Linked DNA regions of Homo sapiens: all the other regions are linked to region 1. Evidence: promoter capture Hi-C in 16 types of primary human blood cells and fetal thymus (Javierre and others, 2016). All regions are on one chromosome and are shown on one strand. Each heading gives the region's core, a stretch centred on a gene start or on the middle of the fragment in contact. The rest is flanking DNA. Distances are from core to core; before and after follow the strand shown. Region 1 holds the start of SUSD3 (sushi domain containing 3). Region 2 overlaps FAM120A (family with sequence similarity 120 member A). Region 3 overlaps FAM120A (family with sequence similarity 120 member A). Region 4 overlaps FAM120A (family with sequence similarity 120 member A).

Region 1 (2,680 bases), core at 130-2,629:
CTGCCTGGTGGTGCATGGTGGGCAAAACCAGGGAAGGGACCACACAGGCCTGAGAGGTGGGCTAGGGGCCACTTGGCAAGACATTCTGGGGTCCCAGAGTGTGGTCTGGAGTGGGCACTGCTGATGGCCCTGCCCTTCCCGACATGGCAGAAAGAATACACATGCTTGATTTTGAATAAAGGAGATTGAAGTAAGCCATCGTGTGTGACCCACAAGTCCAAGTGGGAAGAACATATCAGGGGTGACGCCAACCCTGATGGCGAAAGGGGGAGGGCCCCTCACGTTTCACACTGAACCTCAGCTTTGGAGGGCTCGGAAAGCAGAGACGGGGAGGGGCTGCCCTGCTGGAACCCTGCTTCATGGTCCACCTGAACATCCACACTCTTCACGGTCACCTGCCAGGCACTCTAGAGCCAGCCTGGCCCACCTGGGCCACCTTCTGCGCTCCTGGAGGCATGCCTAAGCCAGCCGCACTGGGCTTCTGCTGCCACACATTGCCAAACCAGGGCCTTTGCACCTGCTGTTCCCTCTGCCAGGATTGCCTTTGCCAGCTCCACAGGAATAGGCATGGCTCAGGTGGTCTCCCACAAGCAGCCCAAGATCCAGGATGTCTGAGGCCTGACACCACACCCAACCCTTTGGTGGCTGCCTGGGCAGGGGGCTAAGCCTGGGTTGGGTGGGGTCAGAGGGAGAGAAAGAGCCCGGATCACAGCTCTGGGCCTGCTGCAAGTGGAGCTGGGTGGGAAGGGGAAGCCAGGAGAAGGGAGGCCTCCAGGTGTGGTGGGCCCTGCAGACAGACCCCAGGGCTTTCCATCCTGTTTCCCCCAGCCGGGGGCCCCTCAGTGAGAACCGAAGACAACAAGGGCACCCAGACCTCAGTGTGCCTCAGACGGCCTGGCCCAGTGAGAGACAGGGAAAGAAGGCTGGGTCCACACAGGACTCTGGGGGTGAGTGGGTTACGGGAGGGGCGGGCCGGGGAGGCGTTTTGCTGTTTGCCCTTTGGTACCGGCCGAATCCGGCACCCTGAGAAGGCAAAATCCTGCTCAAAAAATAAAAACACAGAAGCACATGGAAAAACCACACTAGGAGTGAAGGTGAGAACAGGAAGGGATGGGGGAAGGGTGTTGGGCAGAGGTAGCCACGCGTGCAACGCCCCGGAGTAGCAACACTTTCCGCTCAGCCGGCTGCCTTGGCCCGCTGGGTATTTGGTCTCCCCAAGGGCCCCCGCCCACAGCCCCCGGCCGGACCTCGGCCCCAGTCCAACGTGTGGGCGTGGTCTGTAAGTTGCATGGAACCGCCCCTGGGCGGGCGTGGAGGGCGGGGCCTCCCCGCCCCTCACCCAGGCCCAGGCCCAGGCCCCGCCCCCACAAGCCGGGCTCACTCCCCTGGCAGACCCCGCCAAGCGCCTCGGAGCGCGCAGGATGCGCTGGGCGGCCGCCACCCTCCGTGGCAAGGCGAGGCCCCGGGGGCGGGCCGGGGTCACCACGCCTGCCCCAGGGAACCGCACAGGTGAGGGCTGGGGCCGAGTGGCCGCGTGCGGGGCTCTGCGCCCATTTCACAGACGGGAAAGCCGAGGGGAGGGGGTCGCGGGGCCGCACAGCCGTGGGTGGGGGCCACAGCAACGATCTGCCCCGAGGACGAACCTCCTCGACCCTCCGCCGGCCCAGCAGGCGCCCTAGCGGAGCCGAAGCCTGGCAGCGAGCAGTTCGAAACCAGGCGGCTGCACGCAGCAGCCCGCGCGCCCGTTCCCGAGTGGCCGCAGCGCCTTGGTCCCGGGCGTCTGCGGACAGCGCGGCCGGCCAAGCCTCTCCACGCCGCAGGCTCCGGGCCCCTCCGCGCCCCTCCCGGGGAAGTCGAAACCGGCCTCACCTGGCGGGCGGGTGGCGCGGGGGCGGGAGGGGGGAGCCGGGAGCCCTCTCTGCGCCTGAGGGAGGTGTCATCTTCACGATTCCTTGGTGACCAGCGCAGCTCCACTTTACAGATGGAGAAACTGAGCCTGCGAGAGGGGAGTGGCTGTCCGAGGTCACCCTGTAGCCAGGCTTGGGATCGCCTCGGCTGTCTCGGAGGAGGCTCAGAGGCCTTTGGAAGGAAGAGAAGCTGCTTTTTATTTTACTTTTAAGTGTTTGAATTCAAGAATGTGCTTAAAGAGTTGTCTGCTCCCGTGCCCAAGGCTCCGGGGTTCGAATGCTGGCCTTGCTCCTTGAATGATTCTAAAGTCTAACCCTTTTAGAAACGGAACCAAACCGGAACTCTGGGTCTCAGATATCCCAAAAGCTTACTTCCGCGGCCACTGCCCACGAACGTTAGGCCTGAGGGTTCTGGGCGTCTCAGGCGTTGCGGGGCTAAGGCTCTGCGCAGGAGGAAGCTGAGGCCCGGAGTGGGGTGGGCTGGACCAGGTCACACTGTCAGCCTGCAGCCCCAGGGAACTGGCAGGAAGGTGGCAGGAGAATGGCTTCCTCTCACAGTTGGGGAAACTGCGGCTCAGGGAGCTAATTCACCGAGCAGAGGTCCGCAGCTCAGCAAAGTGGGCGCTGAGACTTGTTCCTGGCGCTGGTGGATTTGGTTTATTTAGTTTGACTCTGGCAGCCTAATGTCCAGAGTCCCTAATTTGGTGTTGGGGTGATGAGCACTTTTGCTCCTGTGTTTGAGCAAGGCCTGCCCAGGGCCTGGTACTACCTGA
Region 2 (2,680 bases), core at 76-2,575, 460 kb after region 1:
GCCACATGTGGTGGCTCATGCTTTAATCCCCACACTTTGAGAGGCTGAGGCAGGGGGATTGCGTGAAGCCAGCCTGGGCAACATAAAATTTAAAAATTAGCCAGACATGGTGGCATGTGCCTGTGGGTCCAGCAACCTGGGTGGCTAAGACGGAAGGATCACTTGAGCCCAGGAGTTCAAGGCTGTAGTGAGCCATGATGGCACCACTGCAGTCCAGCCGGGCAACAGAATGAGTCCCTGTCTCTTAAAAAAAAAAAAAAGGAAAGAAAGAAAAGGAATGAAGTGTGTGGCTTTCTAAGTAATGTCTCCTCCAGTTCCTTTGTTAGAACAGTAGAGCAGTACCAGCATACACTTGCTTTATTCTTGTTTAAATTTTAAAAATTAAAGTGACATTCTTGTCTTTTTTCCCTTCCTGGTGCCTGTCAGATGTTTGTAATCTTGTTTCAGTTGAATTAAGAATTACAGTTGAGGCCGGGTGCAATGGCTCATGCCTGTAATTTCAGCACTTTGGGAAGCTGAGGCAGGCAGATCACTTGAGGTCAGAAGTTCAAGACCAACATGGTGAAACCCTTTCTCTACCAAAAAATACAAAAATTAGCTGGACGTGGTTGTGTTTGCTTGTAGTCCCAGCTACTTGGGAGGCTGAGGTAGGAGAATTGCTTGAACCTGGGAGGTGGAGGTTGCAATGAGCCGAGATTGTGCCACTGTACTCCAGCCTGGGCAACGGAGTGAGATCCTGTTTAAAAAACAAAACAAAACAAAAATTACAATTGAATCCTTGTGGAGGTGTTTATTTTATGTTATTTTCATAGATTCATTTGGACTTGCAGAATCTGAATCAAATCTGAGGTTACTGTATTACAATTTTTAATTCTTTGTTTTATATCTTTTTTCTAATTATCATCTTGATACAAAGTTATATAGAATTCAAACACTGGACAATACAGTATAGAGAATTCCCCATGATCCTACTTCTAGAGAGGTAATTATATTTGAAAGATTGGTGAATATTCAAGCACCTTATTTTCCTCTGCATCTGCTAAAATAAGATTTTTACAATAACTAGGTCCTATCTTAGGGAGAGTAACTTGCCCTTTTTCCTTTTCTTCCATCTTTTATCCTTAATATACTTACGTAACTATGTATTCTTATTTGTGCATGTAAGTATTAATATGTACATGTACTTAATACCCAATATTTAATAAGATCTATATACATCCACTTTATTGCTTTAATATTTTTGCATAAAATTACTGACATTTTTAAATGGATATGTAAAAGTCCTTATTGAGAGAGAAGACTGAGTTTTTTTCCACCTTGTGACCTTGTTTGTATAAATGGGTTTCATTTTCTTGAGAACTTATGTATGTATCTTAGGAGAGAAAGCCCTGTGGAACAAGGACATCTCCACATTTATTTTTATTTTGACATGTAGTGTTATGGAGGCATCTTTTGCATAAGTCTTGTATCCCCCTCCCCTGTTAATTTTTGCTAATGACATGTACTCCCTGGACCAAATCTGGACTGTGAAAGATGAACCACAGGAAGGCAGGCTGTTTGGTGTTAGCATGCTCTGTGAGCAGCACTGAGACCTAGCTGTTGGCAGGAACCGGTTTGCTCAGAGTCTCTTGGTTGGTATTTCTAGGTGATGTTGTGACCTGAAGCTCGCAGAACCTCAGAGCATTCAAATGTGCGTGACAGGTTTGCTGAGTTGTTTGTGTATTAAATTAGCTGATGAAAAAGCTCAATGAATGGTAGCTATCACTACTTTTTAAAAATTAACTCTTAGTATGCTAGAAAATCAGAACACTGATGTGGTTTTTAATGTAAAATAGCTAAAAGAATTTTATTTGGCTCCCTTTGATCTGGTATCCCAGGAAGTTTGTGCCTGATGTGCCTCTTTTGCTTGAAGATGGTGTTGAATGTTTTTCTTGTCCTTTAAGGCCTTTCCAACTCTACTTGCAAAAAAACTTTGTGTTTCACAAAGAGAATTCCATCGTGCTCTGCTCCAGGATCCTGAGGCATGGGTAGGTAGGCCTGGGGCTGAGGGAATGACTTTAGTGTAACTGTAGGTTTTTCTTTCAGATTGTTATGCTCTTGTTCCAGACAGATATCCACTTTATATTTATGTTTTGACACATGGTACCATTTCTAATATCTTCTCATAAAAGTGATTCTGAATTTTATATGTTGGCAAAAATTAATTGTGATCTATATCATTACGTTGTGTTCTAGCCATCCACTAATCTGTGTAGACATTTCGTATTGATCTTAAGACAAACGTGTTGACACAGTTAGGTGTCTCTGAACCCTCACTTGTGGGGTGCAAGGGGATAGCTCCGTGACCAGTTGGGGCTTCTTGGTCACACTGTCTTCTGATGACAGCGAGAAGTGCCAACAAGGCTGTGAAAGAAGTTTGAGCCATCATCTGACTGCCACATGGAAAAGTGCTTTCTGTGTTCCTGACATTTTAAGCTCACCCATTATGTGAAGGAAACTGAATGTGTGATGTTAGCTTAACTAGAGCATGAGGAGACTAGACCTATTAGGTGTCTGTCTCTGTGACTCTTGTAGCTTCCCTGGTCAGGGCACCCAGATACTGGTGCTTCTGTAGGGAGATAGCACTTGGCAGGGCCAGGCCGTGCAGGAGAACTCTGAGCATCTGTCCAGCCAGGCTGAG
Region 3 (2,680 bases), core at 84-2,583, 440 kb after region 1:
GGCCAGAGGCTGAGGTAGCCTGGTCATGTTCCCTGCCAGCCAGGAAGTCTCAGCCACTTCACCCAGCTTTTCCAGGCTGAATAAAAGGGAGATTCAGTTAGACGGTTGGTGAGGTCTCCTGCTCATAAGTTCTCGATCTTAACTTAATAGGATCTGTATTTCAGAGTTTTCAGAACATGAACTGTATCAAGTCAGTCATATGGCATTATAAATCTCTGATTTGTCTGTTTTCTTCAGGTGATTGTCAGGGATTTTCTTCTTTTTTGGGGAAGTAGGTGTGCCAACAAGTTGGCATCAGTAGAATAGGCAAGGCTCTGTGAAACTCCTGCTGTGTCTCTAGAGAGCTGAAATGCAGCCAGGCACGGTGGCTCATGCCTGTAATCCCAGTACTCTGGGAGGCCGAGGCGGGCGGATCACGAGGTCAGGAGTTTGAGACTAGCCTGGCCAACATGGTGAAACCCTGTCTCTATTAAAAATACAAAAATTAGCCAGGCGTGGTGGTGGGCGCCTGTAATGCCAGCTACTCGGGATGCTGAGGCAGGAGAATCGCTTGAAACCGTAAGGCAGAGGCTGCAGTGAGCGGAGATCATGCCACCGCACTCCAGCCTGGGTGAAAGAGCGAAACTCCGTCTCAGAAGAAAAAGAGAGAGCTGAAACCCTGGGCAGGAACATCCCCAGTCTGTCACTGCCATCCGTTCCCTTGGTACAGATGGCTTGAGATTCCTCTCTGGGCAGGACCAGAGACCGAGCAGAGTGGAAGTCAGGGAAGTCCTAGAGCTAGAACCCAGGGCCCTGACTACCACTTTGGAGTTCTGCTCTTGTGACTACATTGCTTTAAAAGAATTCACGTTTGGTTTGATTCTTTTGTAGTAATCTATTGATTTTCCCTGAAAGTTTTAATGTCATTCAAAATTCTTCTCTAACTTGAAAAGCTGTAGAATATTATACATGTGCTGAATTATAAAAAACATTGTGATACACATGACCAGTGGCACACTAATTTATGAAGGTTTTCCTGCCTTTATTTCAGTCTAGAACAGATGACAAAGTTATTCGATTTAAGAGAGCAATTGGATATTATTCAGCGACTAGTAAGCCTATGTCATTTCATCCACCACATTACTTAGGTAAGTAAATAAAAGCCTGTGATCAATATTGACCATATGATAATCCAAGTAGGTTTAAATATTCACCATATAATCTTGTAGGTTTATGTTTTTGAAACATGATTTTCTGTAGTTATGCCAGTAAGTATAGCCAAACTTCCTGGGCAGACTCAGTAGCAATCCCTGAAAATATTGAGGAGGAAGAGAACTTAACAGCCTTCATAGGATGAAGAAGAATCAGAGGGCATTGTGCAGATGAGGCAGCAGGTCGAGGGGATGTTGACGTCTTGGCAGCTCTGAGATATCCGCTTCTAAATACAGAATTGCCTGAGGACGTAGAAGGGCCTCCACAACTGCAAGTGATTTCATAAATGCAGTGTATTTGTAGTCTCTCTTTTCTTGACCCCTGCCTTTTTTTTTTTTTAATTCTTTTTTGTTGTTGAGCAGAGTATTGCACTGTCGCCCAGGCTGGAGTGCAGTAGTGTGACCTCGGCTCACTGCAACCTCTACCTCCCAGGCTCAAGTGATTTTTGTGCCCCAGCCTCCTAAGTAGCTGGGATTACAGGCATGCGCCACCATGCCCAGCTAATTTTTGTATTTTTAGTAGAGATGGGGTTTCACCATGTTGGCCAGACTTGTCTCGAACTCCTAGCCTCAAGCGATCTGCCCATCTCAGCCTCCCAAAATGCTGGGATTACAGGCATGAGCCACCACGTTCAGCCTGCAAAAGACCAAAAGTTAATTCAGAGATTTGAAATTGGGAAATAAAAATATTTATAAGCTGTTAGCCTGAAGCCTGCTTCATATTGAACGTCTTGTGGAGGTTATAAAGCACTAAACTGTAAGTAGAAGTATGAGAAATAGACCCCAACTCTCATTTAAATTGTGTTGTTTGCTTCATCTAAGTTAACAAAAGAATGATTGCATGTTCAAGAGACTCTTACTGGAAGGAGACTTTGTATTTATTTGAGAAGACTAATTCCAAGATTGAAAGTGGCCTTAAGAGCTGCACCCTTCATTTATTCAAGCATAGTGTCTGCTGTATGCTAGGAACTGGGCATTGGAGATCAGAGGCATGGCACTGGCTTTGGCTGCCTATGTATGTGGCTGGGTGGTGGACAGGGAAACATGGCCTGTGCCGATGCCCTGTAATAAAGGAGGTAGGGCTTGTAACCTGGAGATGGGCATGGAGTGGCTGAATCTCCACTGCGAGGTCAGTAAATGGCAGCAGCCTCCCAGTGGGGCTCTTTGCTGCTCTCTTGCTCCCCTGCAATCCATTTTCTTCCCAGCAGCCAAAGTAATGTTTAAAAATGGCAGTTGGACTGTGCTACTCCCATGCTCAGAATTCCCCATTGGCTTCCCGTCACACTTGGAATAAATTCCCAACTACTTACCTTGCTTCCTCCCCATCATCTGAGACTGCTGGCTTCTCACTCCTGAGCGCAGCCTCCTTTCTTGCCTTGCATGAACCAAGCTAGCTTCTGCCCTGGGCCTCTGGGCCGGCTTTTGTGCCTGGAGGGCTCCTTTCTCTGACCAGCTTGTGTTTGTGCCCTTCTGATTTGTGAGATCCAGGC
Region 4 (2,680 bases), core at 102-2,601, 420 kb after region 1:
TGAAATGTGGATTGGGGAAATGCAGCGTGTAATCAGCTGGACTTAAGAGCACTGCACCTGTGCTCAGTAGCTCTGTTAAGCATTATGCTTTTGTAAGTGAGACACAAATGAAAGCTTGTTTCCTACAAGATTTATTTTGTTTTGAAGAGCAGGAGTGAGATACTCCCAAGGTTTCTGGCTATATGTGTATGTCTAAGTTAAACTAGCCCTGCTTCATATGTCACAGGGTTAGAAGTGAAGAGCTGTTTGAAGAATTATTGGAAAACCAGCTCAATCTATTGCCAAGTGAATAACATCATTATATGTGTGTTTTTCCTAAATTTTGTTGAGAAAATCTTTAAGTATTGAAATGTGGAAAGAATAGAGAAATGTGTATCCGTATATCCCCCATCTTGGTTCAACAATTATAAACATTTTGCCATAAAGTATATGTCTGTGTTTTGTTTTGTTTAACAAAAACTATTTGGAAGTAAGTTGCAGATATGACACTTTACCCATGAAAATGTCAGCTTGCTCCACCACTTCAGCTTGCTCCATCACTTCCTAAAAATAAGGACATTTTGATACTTTATCATATTACTCCTATGACATCAACTAAATTAATAATTCTTTAATATCTTTTTTTTTGAGACAGGGTCTTGCTCTGTCACCTGTGCTGGAGTGCAGTGTCTAATATCATTTAATATTAAGCCCATATTCAAATTTTTTCAGAGTCATTTATAGGTTTTTTTTTTTTTGATCGAGATCCAGTCAAGCTTTATGCATGCATTTTGATATTAGCTGAGTACTTTTATGGCATATTGGAGAAGAAATCCTAAATTATTTTTCAGATGACTTGATACGTTGTAGGATTTTAAAGTCACACATGAAATGCAAGTGCACCTGGTTTTGAGATAAGTTCAGAAATTGCATTTGTTAGCCACTTTAATGTTTTTATTTGAGACAGAGTCTTGCTCTGTCACCCAGGATGGAGTACAGGGGTGAGATCTCGGCTCACTGCAACCTCTGCCTCCAGGGTTCAAGTGATTCTCCTGCCTCAGCCTTCCAAGTAGCTGGGATTACAGGCGCCTGCCACCACGCCAGCTAATTTTTGTGTTTTTAGTAGAGGCAGGGTTTCACCATGTTGTCCATATTCGTCTCGAACACCTGACCTCAGGTGATCCACCCACCTTGGCCTCCCAAAGTGCTGGGATTATAGGTGTGAGCCACAGCACCCGGCTCACTTTAATGTTTTGACCCTTCATTCACATTTTTGTATGCAGCACCATTTCAGTGATTTTAATATACATAGGGGAAATTGGATGTGGTTTTACTCCCCATGAGCATGACTGATGGATGTGCTACAGAATTGTATGTATCCCACCTGCTATTTTAGTCTCTTTGTTTTTCCCCAGTTGTAAAACCAATTGCATCTTTTGAAAATTTGGATAGTTGTTACATATCTTCCATAATATTCTGAGTTTTATTTTCTGAAATATTCTTTGTGTTTTTGTATTATGTTGAAATGATGAGAGGTTTAAGATTAGGGTATTGCATTTTTTTTTTTTTTTTTTTTTTTTTTGAGACGGAGTCTCGCTCTGTCGCCCAGGCTGGAGTGCAGTGGCGGGATCTCGGCTCACTGCAAGCTCCGCCTCCCGGTTTCATGCCATTCTCCTGCCTCAGCCTCCCAAGTAGCTGGGACTACAGGCGCCCGCCACTACGCCCGGCTAATTTTTTGTATTTTTAGTAGAGACGGGGTTTCACCGTTTTAGCTGGGATGGTCTCGATCTCCTGACCTCGTGATCCGCCCGCCTCGGCCTCCCAAAGTAGGGTATTGCATTTTAAGAGGTGCTTTGAATTGATTAGATATTAACTTCATAGAACACCAGCCCTCTGTGAACAATAATAAATTTGGCTTTGGCAAAATAGTACAAATATAATATGATAAAAGGGATGGACCAAGGAGGCTTAAGCTTGAGGATGCAAAGTCACGTGTCCTTAACAGCTATTTTTCCAGTATACTCTGTTAGAAAGGGAACCAATAAAAATCATGAGAAAATTTCATCTTTTTACCATCTGATGAAAATCACAAAATACCATGGATAGGAAGTCATCAGTAGTCGATAATTTATGTGATTCCAAATCTTCAGTATGTTGGCAGCACTATGAATTTTTGTTTTCTTTATAAGTAGCATCCTTAGACTCATCTTTTAAACATGTGTCTTTACCAATTTCACTACATGCATTCATTCATTCACTGTAAATTTTTAACTCTCTGACTGTCATCGAACCAGCTACATCAGTTAGAAATTGTGAAGTCCTCCCTGACTGTCCACAGCCCTGGTTGTGTTGAAAGAATAGCACGTCTGCTTTGGGGCTCTGCGGGCTCAGAAGCACAAGGGAGAACAACTGTTAAATCATTGGGTAATATCTGCAGAGAGGAAAGCTAGGATGGGAGCCAAATTCTGTTTTGTCCTGCCTTATTAGTTAGTAGTAGATCGTGCTTATTACTAGATTATGAATGCAATGTTAGACATACTCAGAACCTAAAATTGGTAGAAGACAGTAGGAAATAGGATGTAAGGTGACTTCTTCATACCTCAATGGTAACCTTAAGAGCTGCTAGTAAGGTGGGCATTGAATTTCTTAGGTTTAGATGCAAAGACTACTTCATTTATGTTCAGAACACTTGGGCCATTTC

Evidence for each region. Contacts are between HindIII fragments. The CHiCAGO score rates a contact against its expected background, and 5 or more counts as called.
Region 2: a fragment that was not itself captured here is called in contact with the fragment with the promoter of SUSD3 in region 1 in 1 of 17 cell types (neutrophils); the score reaches 7.2 in neutrophils.
Region 3: a contact is called between a fragment that was not itself captured here and the fragment with the promoter of SUSD3 in region 1, in 3 of 17 cell types (neutrophils, monocytes and naive CD4 T cells). The highest score is 8.3, in neutrophils.
Region 4: a contact is called between a fragment that was not itself captured here and the fragment with the promoter of SUSD3 in region 1, in 1 of 17 cell types (activated CD4 T cells). The highest score is 5.1, in activated CD4 T cells.

The regions. Positions count from the first base shown.
Region 1 is chr9:93,057,322-93,060,001 of GRCh38, forward strand. It overlaps SUSD3 (sushi domain containing 3), which reads left to right and starts at 1,380. Exons shown (of 5, transcript NM_145006.4): 1 at 1,380-1,509. The coding sequence starts at 1,422. RefSeq lists silencers at 1,095-1,544, 1,555-1,964 and enhancers at 1,475-2,455, 2,456-2,680. The HindIII fragment of the contact is 6,174 bases long and covers 1-2,272 here.
Region 2 is chr9:93,521,337-93,524,016 of GRCh38, forward strand. All of the region lies in intron 7 of FAM120A (family with sequence similarity 120 member A), which reads left to right. Among named protein-coding and RNA genes, the nearest start is that of PHF2, 54 kb to the right of the region's middle. The HindIII fragment of the contact is 5,654 bases long and covers 1-2,680 here.
Region 3 is chr9:93,497,760-93,500,439 of GRCh38, forward strand. FAM120A (family with sequence similarity 120 member A) reads left to right here. Exons shown (of 18, transcript NM_014612.5): 5 at 1,031-1,127. Among named protein-coding and RNA genes, the nearest start is that of FAM120AOS, 46 kb to the left of the region's middle. The HindIII fragment of the contact is 6,327 bases long and covers 1-2,680 here.
Region 4 is chr9:93,477,556-93,480,235 of GRCh38, forward strand. The region is part of intron 3 of FAM120A (family with sequence similarity 120 member A); the gene reads left to right. Among named protein-coding and RNA genes, the nearest start is that of FAM120AOS, 25 kb to the left of the region's middle. The HindIII fragment of the contact is 1,197 bases long and covers 754-1,950 here.